Linked DNA regions of Homo sapiens: all the other regions are linked to region 2. The links are contacts of gene promoters, found by promoter capture Hi-C in human tissues and cell types (Jung and others, 2019). All regions are on one chromosome and are shown on one strand. The core of a region is centred on a gene start or on the middle of the fragment in contact, and the rest is flanking DNA. Distances in the headings are between cores, read along the strand shown.

Region 1 (3,239 bases), core at 708-3,207, 430 kb before region 2:
CCCAGAAGATGAAGGGGAGGCAAGGACCTTCTTCACGTAGTGGCCGGAAAGAGAAAGCGAGGGGGTTAAGTGCCACACTTTTAAACTATCCGATCTCGTGAGAACTCACTCACTATCACGAGAACAGCATGGGGAAACTGGCCCCATGATCCAATCACCTCCCATCAGACCCTTCCCCAGACATATGGGGATTACAATTTGAAATGTGATTTGTGTGGGGACACAAATCCAAACCATATCAGTTTTTTTTAATGCTGTACCCATTTAATGCTTGACCCGATTTTGAGGATAGAGGCTGGTCAGTTCCCTTCCTGAGCAGTTAAGTCCACACCCCAACCAGTTCCCTTATCAGGCTCTCATCGTCAATGTCCACTATGTGCCAGCCTTAATGGCTCCGGGGCCAGGTACCAGACAACTAGGATATGCCCACAGAATTATTCAAGTCAGCCAATCCACAGGGAGGCTGCCAGACCTAGCTAGTCTCCCTCCACATCCAGCTCACCATTAATAGGCTGCTTCTGCAATGCCAGCTTGCTGTTACCCTGTCCCCAGGGGCAACCCCCAAGCAGCCCTATCTGGCAGCCTTCTCTCATTTGGAGCTGCAAGTAACCACGAGTTCTGCCCATCATCCATCCGAATGCCAGGATGTTGTGGGCATGAAAAGTAATCTTTAATCCTATAGGTCAATGGTTGAGTGTGACATTTCTGAGCCTCAGTAGATGAGAGGGCCGCACAAACAGGAGTGGGCGCCCTGAGGCATGAGGGGTGGGGGCCCTGGCATAGTGCAGAGGGTCTCCTTGTGCCTGAGCCTCTCATCACAATCTGTCAGAGCCCAGGAGAGGAAGCGAGGCATCTGCAGGAGAGGTGTGATGGGAGATGGGATGGGATGCCCCGAGGAGGAAAGAGATTCAGGATGATGGGAGTCAGGTGGGCATGCGAGCACCAAGCATCCAAAGGAGAAAACAAGAATGACCTTGTGGTGCTGTGTTGAAACTGAAGATACAGGAGTGAATTCGTGCTTTTCAATATCTGCGGATATATTAAGTTCGTGCATAAGTAATTGCGGTTTTCGCCATTAAAAGTAATGGCAAAACCGCAATTACTTTTGCAACAACCTAAAAAAAGGATATAAGTGAATGTGTAGCATACATATGAGGGGGAATACTTACATTCCTGATGCTGTTCTTGGAGAGGAAGTGAAGCAGTGACACCTCAGTAGGAATGAGCATGCCTGGCACCCACATCTTTGTTTCCAAATACTCTCCACCAGAAGGAAGCCACGCTCTTTGAAGAAAGGCTGATTCCAGGGCTGTGGCAGGGAAAGTACAGGATGAGTCTGAACCACCTTATTCCAGAAAGGAAGTGTCCAGAGAGTGATGGGGGACATATCACTAGCCAGGGCTTCTGCCAGACAGACCTGAGAAAATTTGAGCACAGAAATAAATAATAATGGTAACTGATGACAACCCAGTGAGGAAAAAAAGAAAACCATGATTCTATACTGATAGAAACAAATAAATATGTTAAAAGTTTGCCAATGAATAGGACAGTTACCTAGTTTCAAAGTACCTCCCACAAAATAATCATCACTAAGGTGGGAAAAGTAACCAGAGAAGATGCCAGACACCATTCTCATCCAGGGCCTGCAGGGAACAGTTTGGTAAGGGGACAAATTGAAATCCTATGACCCCGATAGGACACAGTGAGAACACAGCACCACTTCTGCAATATTTTCTGACAAAGATGCTGTATTAGTCCATTCTCATGCTGCCATGAAGAGATACCTGAGACTGGGCAATTTATAAAGAAAAGAGGTTTAATGGACTCACAGTTCTGTATGGCTGGAGAGGCCTCAGGAAACTTACATTCATGGTGGAAGGGGAAGCAAACATGTCCTTCTTCACATGGCAGCAACAAGGAGAGTGTAGAACGAAGTGGGGGAGAAGCCCCTTATAAAATCATCAGATCTCATGAGAACTCACTATCATGAGAACAGCATGGAGGTAACTGCCCCTATGATTCAATTACCTCCCACCAGGTCCCTCCCACAACACGTGGGAATTATGGAAACTACAATTCAATATGAGATGTGGTGGGAACACAGCCAAACAGTATCAAATACATATTATCAGACAAGCTCATATTGAGGGACATTCTTTTAAATAACTGGCCTGTGACATTCAAAAGTATCAAGGTCGTAATAGTCAAGAAGCCTGGTGAGCCATTCCAGAGTGAAGGGGAGGAGAGCCATGGGCCAACCAAACACAGCACCTGATCCTGAACTGGACCTTCTGCTATGAGGTCATTACTGGGACAACTGGGGAAACGTGAATGGGGGCGGTCTAAGCATGAGATCATTGTCATCAGTTGTGTTGATCTCCTGATTGTGGTGGCTGTGATTATGTTATTAGGAAACTATCCTTGTTTGTAGGAAATATACATTAAAGTATTGAGAGGTGATGGGGCAACCTGTTAGCAACTTACTCTCAAATGATTCAGTCATTTAAAAAAAAGTTATTTGAACTGCACTTGTAACAGTTCTGTAAGTTTTGAGAGTGCTTCAAAAGAAAAAAACTAAAAATAATTATCAAACTGAACTCCTTGATTTAAAAAAAATATATATTGTCTTGTCATTTAGGAACCTGGAGAAAGACATTTTTAAGTGTCTCCCAAAGTAGATTTCCCAGTTGTTTTCAAATTGCTAACGTTTGGAAAGCTCTGGTCACCTAAATACTACTAAGGTAAATTATTTTCCCCTAAGATCTTTTGCTTCATGTCCTGGTCCACTTCCCTTTCTCACACCCTTAATCATAGGAGGCCAAAAGCACACAAATGTTACTTCTGCTCAGATTCCCACCACGACCTCCCACCTGTTATCCCTGCCTTCACGTCCTCCTGCTCCAATCCATCCTTTCCCATCTGTGTGGAAACCACGTCCAACCAATGACAGTTTGCTTTGGCCAAATGGAGGTGGAGTAGTTTAGAAACAAAATTTTCATTTATATTCTGATTTATATCTTCCTATTATTTGAATGTATTACCTTTGTATATGAAAACAAAGCAAAACATTTAAGAACTTCCGATCATGTAAAGAATCAAGTCCAACTCTATCTGGACATGCTGTTCCCTTCTCAGCATGGCCCAAGCTGTGGCAGGTTTACTTTCTCCAGGCTGTAACCACAGCAAGCCCCTCTCCACACCCTTTACACGAGGGACTCTTGTGCAACCCTGGGCTCTTG
Region 2 (2,892 bases), core at 64-2,563:
CACGCCTGTAATCCCAGCACTTTAGGAGGCTGAGGCGGGTGGATCAGTAGGTCAAGAAATCGAGACCATCTTGACCAATATGGTGAAACCCTGTCTCTACTAAAAATACAAAAATTAGCTGGGTGCGGTGGTGCGCACCTGCAGTCCCAGCTACTCGGGAGGCTGAGGCAGAATGGCTTGAACCTGGGAGGCGGAGCTTGCAGTGAGCTGAGACTGGGCTACTGCATTCCAGCATGGCAACAGAGCAAGACTCTGTCTCTAAATAAATAAATAAATAAATAAATAAATAAATATAAAAAGAGGAAACAAACCATGTAAATTTTAAGGGAGGAGACAATTTTAACATTTTACTTTATGTGGGAACGTATACATCTCTTACAACTATTAAATTCATTTTTAAAAAATAATAACTCCCGAGCCATCACTCCTTAAAGAATGTGGTAGTGGTACAAGTTTAAAGAAAGTCTTTTGAGAACACTCTATTGGAAAAGTGAGCAGACTAGGGAATAACAATTTTACCCCCAAGAATTGTTGTTAAGATTAAAAAGGAAAGCGCTGTCGCAGACGCTCAAACACGGTGCTGGCTCTGCTTCCTTCATCAGTTCCTAGGGTCATGGGACACAAATACTAAAATATTTCCACTACTGGTAACGATGCTGGCGAACGCTTTCCTAATCCAGTTCAGACCGACCTCTCATTGGAGCTTGTGTGACCCGCAGGAGTCCGTGCCCCGACTCCGCCGGGACTGAAACGCAACGGAAAGTGCAGTGCTGGATGCGCAAGGGAATGGGAGCGTCGTGGGACCTCCGGAGCCTGGGAGATCAGAGGGTGGAGTCAGGGCCCCCTAGTTTTGGACTCCATTGCCGCACTGCAGGCGACTTCTCGGACCCCACCGTTGAAGCACCAGGCCCCCCGCCCACCCAAGAGCAACCGGGAAGCACAGCACAAGCCCACAGCTCCGGACACGCGCTCCCGTGTGCCCTGCCTCCCCTGAATCCCAACCCACGAAATCTCCGCCCCCTCGCCACGCCCACATCCCCGTCTACCGTCGGGGAGGGGCGACGAGGCGAAAGCCTTGTGGACCAGGCCGGGATTGGTGGGCGGGACGGAAATGGAGCTGGGAGAGGTGACGTCACCTTCCGCACCTGGCTCAGGGCGGAAATGGGGCGGGGAGAGAGTGACACCACCCCTCTGCCTGTGGCTGGATTGGTGGGCGTGGCGGGGGCGTGGCGATGCCTGCCCTCCGGACAAGGCGGGGTTGGTGGCCAGGGCGACCGCGGGGCGGGCCAGCGCCGGGGGTCGTGGCCGGGACACGTGGTACGGAACCGGCGCCGCGCTTGCTGCTGGTAACAGGGCCTTGCCTAGTGGGCCTTCCTTCCCAGGTGGGTCTTCCTGATGGACCTTCCTTCCCGGGTGGGCGCCCTGAGCTGGGAACGGGCTGGGCGGGGAGGACCCGGGTCAGCGGCGAGAGTCACGCCTCATTCGTGGGGGAGCGTGGGGCGCCCGGCCGCAGCCAGGCGGGAACAATGGTGTCCGGGCTGTTCCCGAGCGCGCGGTCGGGGGCGGAGGCCCGTGACGGCCATGGCCCCGGGGCCTCTCGCACCTCCGGGCCACTCGTGTCCCAGCAGCGCCGAGCGCGTCCCCGGTACGCAGGGACAAGCTGGGCGGCGCACTTGGCCTGAGCCTGCGTGGCCCTCCCTGGTGGAGTCGAGTGGAACGACCCGGGTTGGAGATGGGGTTGCGGGGAGCCGAGCGCTGGTCAGGCCACACCCCTCCCCAGGGGCCTGCTGAGAACTCCAGCCTTTCTCCAACGGATCCCTTTCCCGGAGACCTGGGGTGGGGAGTGTGGCGGGACAGAAGCCTCCCAGGTTCAAAGGGCCCTGGACAGCGTCCCTAGCTCCCGCCAGCATTTGAGGCAGCGTTTAAGGCTATAGGAGGAAGCGTCTGAGGGGAGACAAAATTCCCATGCCAGCTTGATGGTCTGGGGCAGGTGTCTTATTCAATTGGCTTCAGTTTCCTCATCTGTGAAATAGAGACAATATTTGGTCCTCACAGACAGGGCCACCAAACCAAACTCCCCACCGCCTGCCAAGGTCAGATTCCGTAGATCATCCAAGCATAGACTGCAGGAAGAGGCGGAGAACCCGGGGCCTGCTACCAATACCTTCCTTGTCCCTAATGTTTGCAGGCAGGAGTGGAGGAAGAGAAGTCCACATTATGCTTAGGGATCAAGTTCTAGCTTGGGCAGATTGGAGATTCTTTTATTGGTTCTTAATCAGACATGAAGGTGTGATTCAGTTATTTGTGTTATATATGCCTTCAATTATCAAGGGACAGGGACTGAGATTCTCAGAACTAGAAGACTCATTTGTGTGTACTACTGACGGTTCCAGGTGCCACAGCAATTTCTCCTGCCCTCCACTAGTCTCAACATTTAAATCATGTTACTCCCTTGCCAGGCATGGTGGCTCATGTGTGTAACCTCGGCACTTTGGGAGACCAAGGCGGACAGATCGCTTGAGTCCAGGAGTTCGAGACCAGCCTGAGTAACACGAGCAAACCCCGTCTCTACAAAAAATACAAAAATTAGCTGGGTGTGGTGGTGCGCACCTGCAGTCCCAGCTACTTGGGAAGCTGAGGCAGGAGGATCATTTGAGCCTGGGAGACAGAGGTTGCAGTGAGCCAAAATCACAGCAATGCACTCCTGCCTGGGTGACAGAATGACAACCTGTCTCTAAATAAATAAATAAAGTTACTCCGTATGAACTTTAGATTTTTAGAGGGGAGTGAGGTGTCATTTAAAAGGATAATGCTTTTGCTTAAATCAGCATACTGCTTTTACCTTAATTAGTGGTGTTCTCCAGAGCATATAAAAATGGTTCCATTTAATGG
Region 3 (3,273 bases), core at 378-2,877, 460 kb before region 2:
AAGCATCATAAAACACAGAAAATAAAACCCATGATGAATACAGTGTGGAAATGTCTCAAATATCCTCTCAGAACTTATACATTTGATCAACTTTGTATCAGTGAGCCAAGATCATGCCATTGCACTCCAGCCTGGGCAACAAGAGAGAGACTTTGTCTCAAAAAAAAAAAATTATTATTCCCAAAAATAACAGAAAAAAAATTACTGCTCTGTGTATGTAATGGACTGGTATGGTTGAATCTGTGTCCCCGCCCAAATCTCATGTCGAATTGTAATCCCCAGGGTTGGAAGTGGGGCCTGGTGGGAGGTGACTGGATCATGGAGGTGGAGTTTTCATGATGGTTTAGCAGCCTCCTCCCTTGGTACTGTATCGCGATAGAGTTCTCACAAGATCTGGTGTTTAAAAGTGTGTAGCACCTCCCCTCCCCCTTCCTCCTGCTCCTGGCTGTGTAAAGTGCCAGCTTCCTGTTCGCCTTCCGCCATGATTCTAAGTTTTCTGAGGCCTCCCCAGAAGCTGATGCCACCATGCTTCCTGTACAGCCTGCAGAACCATGAGCCAACGAAATCTCTTTTCTATATATATTACCCAATCTCAAGTATTTCTTTATAGCAGTGTGAAAATGGACTAACACACATACTCTCTTCATGAATGCCAGATTGTTCTAAGAATCTACATGTTACCATGTCACAACCTGCTTAAAACTCTCATGTCCTCCCCTAAGGTTGAACTCTTTAGGAACACACACACAGGCCCTCCCATCCTGGCCCGATGAAGACATTCAGCTCCAACCCCTGCCATTCAAGAATATCACACTATTTGCCTGCGATCTCTATGCAATCATATCAAATAAAACCCTTACATTATCCCGTAGCACACACCAGGCAGTCGGCTAAGCATTCACAGGAATTACTTGATTTAATCCTTCAGACAATATGCCCATTTTACATGAAAGGAAGTCAAGGCCCAAGAGCTCAAGTCACTTGGCTCTGTCACATACTTAGGAAGTGAGGGTGTTGGATTTGAAGCCGGCCAGTGCCTTTTGGAGCCATGGCTTGAGCATTCCCACTCTACAGCCTCTCTGGGCCTTGAGCCCCTTTGTTCTCCCTCATATCCTTCCCTGGCCCCCTCACTGTGATTCACAGGGCCTCACTATCCCCTCAGCTGCACTAAACTTTAGGCAGGCTTCCTCCTGACTGTAGAGCCCGATTTCGCTTTTCCTAGAGCATTTACTTTAGAAAACTTGCCATTGTGATTCCTTTATCTGCCGCTTTGAGATGTAAAGCTTCCTCCAGCCTCTAGCCAGTTTTATAGCCCAGAATTGTCTTCCTCAAGGACCTGAGGGCCATCACTTTGAAATATAATCATCAAGAAAGATACCTCCTTGATTATGGTGATCATTTCACAGTGCACACAGATACTAAGACACCAAAAAGTACACCTTAAAGATATACAATTTTTGTCACTTATACCTCAATAAAGCTGGAGGAAAAGAAAGACAGCATCCTTATTCCTCAGTCTCTATGGGAAGGTAGGAACCTGGAAAACAAAGGTCACTTAGCAAGCACAGCTTTCCTAATCCCACGGACCGGCCTCTGCCCTGACATACTTAGAGCTTTCTACCCTTCAAACCACTCCTGCTTTTCGTCTCAACACAGTTGAGTTCTAGCGTGCGCGCGTGCTCTCGCACTCTCTCTCTCTCTCTGTCTCTCTCTCTCTCTCCTATTGCAATAGTCTTGGGTAAAGTCTTTCTGGCCGTTTTTAACAGGCCTCTAGTGAAATTTTTCTTCTACAACTTTCCTTTTCCCACCACAGAACAGTCTCGGTGATGCCTCCTCACCCCGCCAGCAGGGGGCAGCAGGCCTGCTCCACATGGCTCCCATGGAGGCCTTCCTACAGCAAGCAGAGACCACAGCAGGCAGAGAACACTGCACGCAGAGGCCACAGGGCACAGAGACCACTGCACGCAGAGACCACAGCACACAGAGACCACAGTACACAGAGACCACTGCACGCGGGGGCCATAGTACGTGGAGACCACAGCACACAAAGACCACAGCAAACAGAGACCACAGCACACAGAAGCCACAGCACACAGAGACCACAGTATGCAGAGACCACTGCACACGGGGGCCATAGCACGTGGAGACCACAGCACACAGAGACCACAGCACACGGAGACCACAGCACACAGAAGCCACAGCACACAGAGACTACTGCACACGGGGGCCACAGCACACAGAGACCACAGCACACAGAGACCAGAGCACACAGAAGCCATAGCACGCAGAGACCACAGCACTCAGAGACCACAGCACACAGGGGCCACGGCACACAGAGACCACTGCACGTGGAGGCCACAGCACACAGCGGCCACAGCATACAGAGACCACAGCATGCAGAGACCACAGCATGTGGAGCCCACTGTATGTGGAGACTACAGCATGCAAAGACCACTGCCCATACACCACAATACATGGAGACCACTTGCCCTCAGGACCATGTGCCCCATGGGTCTGCAAGCTCTCCCCAGACCAAAGCTTTCTCCTACTCTTCCTCTTTGAATTTTTCTTCCTCTTTTCTCAGCTTTCTGGCTTATATTCAGCAGAGTGCATACCACACTGTGAATGCTAGTAAGAGTGCAATGAAATGATCACATAAATGAACTGGAAAAAGAAAACAAATCTTTCAATAACTTATTTTAAATCAGAAGGAATGCAAACTATGAGAAGAGTATGTATTTTGTATGTATTACACTAGCAGTTTCTAGATTTTAGGATGAGATTAATTTCAGCTTTCCAAGGACATGATTCAACAGGATAGGAAAAGAAACAAAGCAAAAAGAAATAATGCCAATTCTTGCAGTAGATAAATTCCAAGCCTCTGTACCTGATTCCCAATTCTACTCTACTTTTCCCTTTTCAGCCGTGCTGCTAAGTAATACGCACAGACATAATTCTCTGTAATACACTGCTCAGTATAAACACGGAGAAATGATAACTGTATTAGCTGGACATTTATTATGGGCCAGGTGCTACCCACGTTATTTAACACAGCAATCTTATGAGACATTTTCTATCATTACACAGATGATATTTCACAAATGACAAAACTGAGACCCAGGGAACCAAATCACACATACAAGGTGACTCGATTAATGGGCAGCAGAGTGCAGAACAGAAGCAAAGCTGCCCCAGTGGCAAAAGCAATGCTCTAGCCATTGTCCTTGCTGCTCCACCCTGAAGGCCAACTACAAACAAATGCAAACCCAATTT

Evidence for each region. Contacts are between HindIII fragments. The study calls those that stand out against the background at their distance.
Region 1: a fragment that was not itself captured here is called in contact with the fragment with the promoter of CNDP2 in region 2 in 3 of the 25 tissues and cell types used here (lymphoblastoid cells, mesenchymal stem cells and spleen).
Region 3: a contact is called between a fragment that was not itself captured here and the fragment with the promoter of CNDP2 in region 2, in 1 of the 25 tissues and cell types used here (spleen).

What each region holds. Positions count from the first base shown.
Region 1 is chr18:74,066,162-74,069,400 of GRCh38, forward strand. No RefSeq gene overlaps it. Among named protein-coding and RNA genes, the nearest start is that of FBXO15, 80 kb to the right of the region's middle. The HindIII fragment of the contact is 9,534 bases long and covers 1-3,239 here.
Region 2 is chr18:74,495,050-74,497,941 of GRCh38, forward strand. It overlaps CNDP2 (carnosine dipeptidase 2), which reads left to right and starts at 1,314. Exons shown (of 12, transcript NM_018235.3): 1 at 1,314-1,382. RefSeq lists enhancers at 600-869, 1,427-1,939, 2,323-2,422 and silencers at 1,140-1,649, 1,780-1,829. The HindIII fragment of the contact is 9,626 bases long and covers 1-2,892 here.
Region 3 is chr18:74,039,063-74,042,335 of GRCh38, forward strand. No RefSeq gene overlaps it. Among named protein-coding and RNA genes, the nearest start is that of FBXO15, 110 kb to the right of the region's middle. RefSeq lists enhancers at 1,732-2,026, 1,901-2,030. The HindIII fragment of the contact is 4,124 bases long and covers 1-3,273 here.